Regions from separate parts of the Homo sapiens genome. Here region 1 is linked to region 2. Evidence: promoter capture Hi-C in human tissues and cell types (Jung and others, 2019). All regions are on one chromosome and are shown on one strand. Each heading gives the region's core, a stretch centred on a gene start or on the middle of the fragment in contact. The rest is flanking DNA. Distances are from core to core; before and after follow the strand shown. Region 1 holds the start of NAGS (N-acetylglutamate synthase). Region 2 overlaps MPP3 (MAGUK p55 scaffold protein 3).

What was found. The method cuts DNA at HindIII sites, captures the fragments that hold promoters and counts their contacts. A contact is called where the count stands out against the background at its distance.
Region 1: a contact is called between the fragment with the promoter of NAGS here and a fragment that was not itself captured in region 2, in 3 of the 25 tissues and cell types used here (bladder, lymphoblastoid cells and mesenchymal stem cells).

The regions. Positions count from the first base shown.
Region 1 is chr17:44,002,369-44,006,210 of GRCh38, reverse strand. It overlaps NAGS (N-acetylglutamate synthase), which reads right to left and starts at 1,589. Exons shown (of 7, transcript NM_153006.3): 1 at 1,122-1,589; 2 at 300-574; 3 at 1-187. The coding sequence starts at 1,547. It also overlaps a transcript of PYY not described here. RefSeq lists an enhancer at 1-666. The HindIII fragment of the contact is 21,260 bases long and covers 1-3,842 here.
Region 2 is chr17:43,826,700-43,831,966 of GRCh38, reverse strand. MPP3 (MAGUK p55 scaffold protein 3) reads left to right here. Exons shown (of 20, transcript NM_001932.6): 3 at 24-85; 4 at 290-408; 5 at 646-723; 6 at 1,860-1,940; 7 at 2,176-2,313; 8 at 4,135-4,216. The coding sequence starts at 61. Among named protein-coding and RNA genes, the nearest start is that of MPP3, 3.8 kb to the left of the region's middle. The HindIII fragment of the contact is 3,501 bases long and covers 193-3,693 here.

The sequences.
Region 1 (3,842 bases), core at 340-2,839, 170 kb before region 2:
TGTGTTATTGAGGAAGATGATTTTGGTGGGCCGCAGCGCCTTGGCCAGCGACGCGGTCACCTCCAGGGAGTCGAGAAGCACGGAGCGGCGCGCGGCCGTCTCCCCGATGGGGCACAGGATGGGGATGCTGCCCGACTCCAGGCACCACTGCAGCAGGTCTGTCTCCACCGAGACGATGCCGCCGTAGCTGTGGGCCAGACGTGGTGCTCGAGAGGGCCCCCTCCAGGCCTGCCGGACGGGGCAGGGCGGGCAGAGTAGCACGCTCTGAGGACGCCTGGGCGGGCAGGGCGGGCACTCACCTGGCATGGGGAGCCGGCTCGGCAGCGCGTAGCACAGACCCGCCGCCAAAAAATGGCACAGCAGCGGCGGCGTTGTGTCGAAGCGCGTCTACCAGCACCTTGCAGCTCTTGGCCAGCTGCGCCTTGGCCTCCCAGAAGGAAAGACAGCCCGAGGGAGCCGTAGGGGCCGGCAGCCCCAGGACCACCAGCGGCTTCATGTCCATGCGCTGCAAGAAGGCCAGGGCAAAGGCCAGACTGGATACGCCCTGCTGGCACTTGAGCACCTCCTCGTCCACCTGCGGAGGAGTGGGCTTTCAAGGAGCGTGACACGGACCTGAGCCGCTGGCTCCCACAGCCTGGCCTGCAGGGCCGTCTCGGTGACCCTACCCTTCCAGAAGCTGTCAGGACCCAGTTCTGGCCACCAGTGCCCACCTGCTCCGCCCTTTGCCCCGTTGGGTCTTGCCACTCCCTTGTCTCACGCTGGGGTACCTCCCGCCCTCCTCCCTCCGACCTTGGACTCCGGGACATCTTTGGGGGAGGGGCAGTGCAAGCGGCTCCTGTCCAGGTCCTTCTGAACCCCTAACTGCGCCCATGTTGGGGGCCTTCTTCAGAGCATCACACCTGGCGGGTGGGGTCCCCCAGGATCCTCACTCGGGCTGGGCGGGAGGCTTCCGGAGGAGCTTACGGCCTCTCCCATTCCCGGCGGCGCTGGTCTGGGCCCTGCCGGGCTCCTTCCCGCTTCCGCTGCGCAGAGCCCGCAGCGTATCCTGCCATGCCTGAGGACAGGTGGCCGCACAACCCCATCCCCTCGCTGCGTCACGGCCCACGCCGGGCTCCGCTCACCTCGATGACGGCGAAGGGCTTGTCCGCGGAGTGATGGCAGGTCTGGAACTGCGTGAGCCAGTGGCGCGCCTCCCCAGGGCTGGCCCCGCACTGGTTCAGGAAGGCCTGGATGTCCCGCTGCACCAGCGAGCGGCCCGAAGGAGGCTCTGGGGACTCGTGGGGCACCGGGGGCCTGGGACTCGGCACCCACGACGGCTCCTCGGCGACGGGCGACTGGGAGACGTCGTCCGCGCCCGCGTACTCCTCGGGCGGGGGCTGGGGCTGCGACCAGGCGGTGCTGAGCCGGCGCCCCGGGCTGGTGCCCCTCGCCGCCCGCCGCCGCGCGCCACAGCTCAGCCTTCGGGCGCCCCCAGTGCCTCCCCGGCCTCTCAGCCTCGGGGCTACAGCAGCTGCCCGCAGAACCACAGCCATCAGCGCCGTCGCCATGACGACAACCAACTCTTGCCCCCCAAGAGTGGCAGTCTGTCTGGAGCGTCTGGCACTGGGGGGCTCTTAACTTGCCGTTGGGCGGGGCTGGACCTGGTCGGGGCGGGGTCCGGACAGGGGACCAGGAGTCTCCTCTGGGTGCGTTTGAGGAGGGTCAGGCCATGAGTCAGGGGGCGGGGCCACTAGGCTCCCCCGCCCCTGGAGGAACTGAACCCACTATCGGTCATGGGGCCGAGACTAAATGTGGCGGGTTGTCTTTAATCTGCTGCCAAGGTAGGTTCCAGGGGCGGCTTTGGGAGTCTGCAGGGCCTTGGATGATTGGCATTCTGACCAGAGAAGAAGGGACTGTAGGTGGCTTTGAGCACAGGGCTGGGCAGGGGGCTGGAAGGAGGGCGCTGGAAAGAGTAGAAGAAGGGGGGCAGTGGGAGGGCGGGGGCGGGTGGTGCTGGCCTTGTCTGTCCTGTTGCCTGAGCTCAAAAAAGATCCTAATGAATGACCATGAGGTTACCAGGGTTTGCCAAACTCCAGTCACTGGGTACCAGCTTGAGGAATTCTGTGATATCCTCAAAACACCCCTCAAAACTTATAATACTTTAGTGTTAATGCTTTTCTTTATCGAATATCACATCTGGTAAAAATAAAATAAAATAGAGTTTTTTATTTTGGTTTTTGAGATAGGGTCTCACTCTGTTGTTGCCCAGGCTGCAGTACAGTGGTGCAATCATAGCTCACTGCAGCCTCCACCTCCCAGGTTCAAATGATCCTCCTGCCTCAGTCTCCCTAGTAGCTGGGACCACAAATGCACACCACCATGCCCAGCTGATTTAAAAAAAAATTATTTTTTTTGAAGACGGGTGTTCACCATGTTGCCCAGACTGTTCGTGAACTCCTGAGCTCAAGCAGTCCTCCCACTTCTGCCTCCCAAGGTGCTGGGATTACAGGTGTGAGCTACTTCACTCGACCTCTGTAACCCTTTTTTTTTTTTTTTTTTTTGTTTGTTTGTTTGTTTGAGATGGAGTCCCACCCTATTGCCCAGGCTGGAGTGCAGTGTTGCGATCTCGGCTCACTGTAATCCCCGCCTTCTGGGTTCAAGCGATTCTCCTGCCTCAGCCTCCTGAGTAGCAGGGATTACAGGCAGACACCATCACACCCGGCTAATCTTTGTATTTTTAGTAGAGACAGGGTTTCACCATGTTGGCCAGGATTGTCTCAAACTCCTGACCTCGTGATCCACCTGCCTCAGCCTCCCAAAGTGCTGGGATTACAGGCGTGAGCCACCACGCCCGGCCCTCTTTAACCTTTTTAAACTTAAAGTTTATCCATGTTAGGTCTGTAACTAGGCCAGTATCACTTGCCATAAGCCTTAAGAATCAAGTGAGGAGGCGGGTGGGTCATTTGAGGTCAGAAGTTCAAGACCAGCCTGGCCAACATGGTGAAACCCCATCTCTACTAAAAATACAAAAATTAGCCAGGCAGTAGTGGCATGTTTCTGTAATCCCAGCTACTCAGGAGGCCAGAGAATCACTTGAGCCTGGGAGGAGGAGATTGCGGTGAACTGAGACTGTGCCACTGCACTCCCGTCTGGGCGACAGAATGAGACCCTGTCTCAAAAAAATTAAAATTAAAATTAAAATCAAAATTAAAAAAGAATCAAGTGAGAGGAAAACAATGTTATTACATTCCATTATATTCCATCTGCATAGCTTGCCTGCTTTCTTGGTAACATGGAAGGTTAGCAGGTGCCATGTGTTAAAGATACCCTAGCACCAAGCAAAGCCTTCTGTGTGGTAGAGGAATAGCTAACACATGTCGAATGCTAGGCACTATGCAAAGGACTTCACAAATAGTCATTCATTTAATCCTCTCAGTGACTCCAGGATAGCTATTATCATTATTCCCATTTTACAGATGAGAAAATGGAGGTACAGAAATATGTGAGGATCAGGGTCACTCAGCTCACAAGCCGTGGAGCTGGTCTAGGAAGCAGTTCTGCTCCAGATCCATGCTGTTAAGCAAGTTTTGGAAAGGAGTTGAAAGGCTTGAAAACATTCACAGGATATGATTCAATGTTACTTCATACTGTGTCCATGTGCTGGGCACTGTCAGCTGCACACATCCTGCCCTTGGGTACACTCTGATCCAGTCAGACCCTCTGTTGTTGTAGAGGGGGAAAGAGGACCCTCTGTTGTTGTAGAGGGGAGGTGACCTGGCCAAGGTCACACAGCTCGTCAGTGGCATGGCCAGACCCTAAGCACCCTCAGTTCCTACCCCTGCTCCTCCCTGCTTTCTTGCACG
Region 2 (5,267 bases), core at 694-3,193:
CCACCTCCACCCCCTTCTCCCAGAATCTGCAGGGAGAGGTCGGGAGGTGACAACGCCAGCATGCCAGTGCTATCGGAGGACTCTGGTAAGTACCTCCCCCCGGCTGGACCTGCCACAGTCCTGAAGACAAGAGCCTGCCTGGCAGCCTCCAGGCCCTGGCAGTGAGAGCCTGGGGAGAGAATGTCCTCACGGCAGGACTGAAGTGCTGTTTGAGGCCCCACTCGGGCTCCTCGGGGGCAGGGAGCACCCACTGCGTTTGCTATCCTTTGTTTTTCTCACCTCTCCCCAGGTTTGCATGAAACCCTGGCCCTGCTGACCTCCCAGCTCAGACCTGACTCCAACCACAAGGAGGAGATGGGCTTCCTGAGGGATGTTTTCAGTGAAAAAAGCCTCAGTTACTTAATGAAGGTGAAGTCCCACGTCATCCTGCGTGGAAGGGTGTCTAGAGGTCTTTCTAGCTGTCTGTGGCCGTCTGAGGTCATCCTAGTCATCTCCCTGCCCCAGGAAGGCCTTCACTTGCCCACTACACAGGACTTTCTCTTATGGTGCCCTGTCAGTGGCCCAGTCTGCTGCCCCAAATGTCCCCACAGCCGTGGGTGGGATGTGTGGTGTCCAGGGTGCATCTGAAATACTCTGTCTTTGCAGATTCATGAGAAGCTTCGCTATTATGAAAGGCAAAGTCCAACCCCAGTTCTGCACAGCGCTGTGGCCCTCGCTGAGGACGTAAGCCCCAGGTTTCTCCTTACAGTGTCTGCCCCACTCCCCACCCTGTAGGGCTCCTTCATCTTGCCTCGCTTGCTTAGTGTGGGGACACCGGGAATCAGGAGCCCAAAGGTGAAGAGGTGTTTTCTTCCCTTGTCCTCCTCCTTCTCTTCCTCTCTCTGGGTTCCCCGAAAGGTAGGGAGGAACCCGTGAGCCTTGGACTGGGCTGGGAGACACTGTGACATGGAGCTGCCCACTTACTGTGTGTTCTTTAGCAAGTCTGCTTCCTCTGCTGTAAATGAGAGCATTGGATTGGCTCAGCAGTTCCCAAACTGCCCTGAGGACTGGTGATTTGAATAGGTCAATAAGACATTATGTCTGTGCTTTCCTGAAGTCAAGGGACCTACAGTGTGTCCCCGCATACTGGCTCAGGCTTCTCATTTTTTAAAGGAACGCTTCTTAATTTCTTGTGGACCTAGTCGTCTATGTTGCGTGGTTGGGGAAAACCCATTCTGGTTGATTACTAAGATCAGTTCCTGAATAAACTCACCTAACCCCAGGAGATGGCCTGGGGAGGGATGAGTGCAGCTTGTGGGTGCAGAGCCCTGGGCCCTTCTCCACTGTGGAATGTGATTAGGGGCACATTAGATTGCCTGGCTCCCAGGCTCAGCGCTGCCTGTCCCACCAGCTCTGTGATGTTAAGTAGGCCACTCAACCTCTCTGAGCTCCCATTTCCTCATTCATAAAATAGCATCTGAGAGCCAGATAAGCCCAGGTTCAAATCCTAGCTGTGCTGTATATGAGCTCTGTGACTTCGGGCAAAATGTTTAATCTCTTTGAGTCTCAGGATTCTCATCTGTAAAATGGCAAAGTAACAAGACCCTCTGCATCAAGTTGGTTGCGAGGGTTCAGTGAGAAGATCCACATAAAGCAGAAAGCACGTAGGGCTTAAAACGGTGGCTCCTTGGAGGATGGCCCCATAGAGCTGCTCCTGACCCCTGGTGTGATGTTCCCAGGATCATCGTCGTCGGGTGGTTGAGGGTCTGGTGTGCCCCTGGGGGCTGCAGCTGGGTGGGCCCTTCCAAAGAGGAAGGACCCAGCAGATATGGGGCAGGGGCACCTCTAGCCATCAGTGGCGCCTGTCTCATTCTCTGCAGGTGATGGAGGAGTTGCAGGCCGCCTCCGTGCACAGTGATGAGAGGGAGCTGCTCCAGCTGCTGTCCACCCCGCACCTGAGGGTAGTCACACAGAGCCCCTGCCCAGCCATGCCTCTGGGTCTCCTGGGATGGGGGCGGAGGGAGCTCTCCTAATGAGGCTGAGGAGTGGAGACTGAGGGAGCGATCCTCAGCACTAGTGTCTGGGCAGTTGTCTCTCTGGCATGGCGTCTGCCACCCTCCATACCACCGGCCAGCTGCGGCCTGCTGACCCTGTGAGCGGCGGGCCAGCCTTCCTTTTCTCTGGCTTTCCCGGCAGGCTGTGCTCATGGTACATGACACGGTTGCCCAGAAGAATTTTGACCCCGTTCTCCCGCCTCTGCCTGACAATATCGATGAGGATTTTGATGAGGAATCGGTGAAGATCGTCCGCTTGGTGAAGAACAAGGAACCCCTGGTAGGTGCTGCTGCCTGCCCCTCTCTAACCCACTCTTCCCCTGCCTCTCACCCCCACCCAGAACACTGGACAAGATCCTCCCCGAAGTCTTCAGAGTGAGTGACGGCAGCTTTGCCTGCGCTGCTGCTCATCCCTGTGGTGCCTCTGTGTGCAGGGCACCCCTTTCTCTAGGTGGATACAGCCCCTCTCAACTGTGGCCAACACCCTTTGTGTAGTTAATAACCTGCACAATTGTACAGGGTGACCCTGATCATGCTTTAAGCCAGAAATGGACAAACTACAGCCCAAGGGCCAAAACCAGCCCACAGCTTATTTTTTAAAATAAAGCTTTTTTGGAGCACAACCAGGCCCATTCACTTACAGATTGGCTGTGGCTGCCTTTATAGTGCGATGGCAGAGTTGAGTCGTTGTGACAGAGACTGTGTGGCTGGCCTCAAATATTTACATGTGGCCCCTTATAGAAAACGTGTGACAATGCCTGCTCTGAATGTTGAGGAAGCACAGGGCATTCCTCTCCCCAGCAGACAGACTGCTATCACTTTGGTCCTGGTTCAGCATTGATTTACCGAGCAAAGGGACAGCGTTGTTTATGAGATGCTCAGAAGTGGTGGAAGCCCAGAGAATTGAGATTGGCTCCAGAGGATCCCACAGCTGGCATTCTCTATTTCCAACTTTCCCCAAATGACCTCCGACGAGCCTCTTCTGCAAACAGACGAGGATCTCTCCTCTGCCTCTGTTTCCTCACTTGTAAAATGGAGTGGCCATCCATTGATTTAGCAAACACATTGTGAGCCCTCCTATCCAGGCTCTGTATTGGGTGCTGGCGGTTCAGAGCTGAATAAATGATGGATAGCGATGCTGGAAAGTTCTCAGTTCTGGGGGGCTAGAAGTCCTGAGGTTCTTAGCTGATGGCCTCTCTTTCTAGCAATAATTATCTTACGTACTTCAAATAGATGGCACAGATGATGTTAACAATAAGTGTGCAAATGTGTTTGCAGTTACAGCCACTAATAAGTGGTTAACATATGTTGAGTGCTTACTGTGTACTAAGTGCCTTGAGTGGAATCCTTGCAACAACACTGTGAGTTAAATGCTGTCCCACATCTCACAGGAAACAGGCTTGGAGAGGATAAGAGATTTCCTTGTTAAGTCCACATGCTTTTTGTAAACGGCAGAACTGTGTTCACACCCAAGGCTGTCCAGCCCTAGAGCTTAGCTCTTAAGCTTTCTGCCGTCCTGCTGCAGTCCGGCCTGTGTGGTGCAGGAAATCGAGGGCTCGTTAGTGCCTTTCTCATCCTAAGTGTCATCTCTGCTGTGCTTCATGGGCCAAGTCCTGGTCCCGAAGCCCTGGCTGGGGTGCATAATTGGTTTCCCTCAGCAGCAGCAGAAGGCCCGGTAACCCTGTGATTGGGTAGAGGCAGGGTGAGAATTAGCTGGCACGTGTCATCCTCATTATTAAATGTCTTTGCAAGTGGTAGGAACTGTGATATGAGAGAGATGTGATGGAGAACTTACTGGATTTGGCATCACAAAAAGCTTTCCCCTTTACCAGCTGGGTGACCTTGAGGATATTTAACTTCTCTGAGCCCCAGTCCCTCATCTAAAATGTTGCAGCATTATTGTGCCTTGTAAACTGTACAGTGCAGGGCTATATTAATGGGGGATGTTGGTTTTGTTTTGTCTTCAGCATTGGGAAGGTCCCCACTGATCTCTCTGGACTGTCAGAGGGAGGGACTGGGGAGGCTGTGTTGGGTCCAGAGAGTAGGGGTCTGAGGTTTGGAGCTGCTGCTTAAGAACCTGTCTCTTCTGTCTCGGGTTCAGGGTGCCACCATCCGGCGGGACGAGCACTCAGGGGCTGTTGTGGTGGCCAGGATCATGCGAGGAGGCGCAGCAGACAGGAGCGGTGAGTGGCGGCAGTGCAAAGCTGGCCCAGCCCCGATCATGGCCATTGTTCCAGAGCCCTCCACCTTTGCTAATAGGTCCCCTTACCTCCCTCCTATCAGGTCACCTGTTTGGGATTTGCTTTGCTTTCTGGGGTTGTGGCTGGAATTCTCATCTCCTTCCCAAGTCAGTAGAAATTTTAATAGAAAATATAGGCCAGCTGGGCATGGTGGTGCACACCTGTAATCCCAGCACTTTAAGAGGCCGAGGCAGGCGGATCACTTGAAGCCAGGAGTTCCAGACCAGCCTAGCCAACATGGCGAAACCCCATTTCTACTAAACACACAAACCTGGGAGGCGGAGGTTGCAGTGAGCCAAGATCATGCTGCTGCACTCCAGTCTGGGCAACAGAGTGAGACTCTGTCTCAAAAAAAAAAAAAAAAGAAAAAAAAAAAAAAGCCAGGCACAGTGGCTCACGCCTGTAATCCCAGCATTTTGGGAGGCCGAGGTGGGCGGATCACCTGAGGTCGGGAGTTCGAGACCAGCCTGACCCACACAGAGAAACCCCATCTCTACTAAAAATACAAAATTAGCCAGGCTTGGTGGCACATGCCTATAATCACAGCTACTTGGGAAGGCTGAGGCAAGAGAATCGCTTGAATCTGGGAGGTGGAGGTTGCAGTGAGCCGAGATCGCGCCATTGCGCTCCCGCCTGGGCAACAAGAGTGAAATTCCGTCTCAAAAAAAAGAAAAAAAGAAAAAGAAAATATAGGCCATGCACGGGTGGCCCACACCTGTAGTCCTAGCTGTTCGGGAGGCCCAGGCAGGAAGATTGTTTGAGCCCAGGAGTTTGAGGTTGCAGTGAGCCGTGATTACACCACTACACTCTAGAGTGGGCGACGCAGTGAGACCGTCTCAAAAAAAAAAGAAAAAAAAAAAAAATATATATATATATAAATAGTCATGGAGTACTTTGGGGTGATTGAGAAAAAGCTCATGCGTTGGTTTAGTCCAAGGACTGTGACAGTTAAGAATATAGCATGGGCTTGCGGGATTACTAACTGTGGGACAGG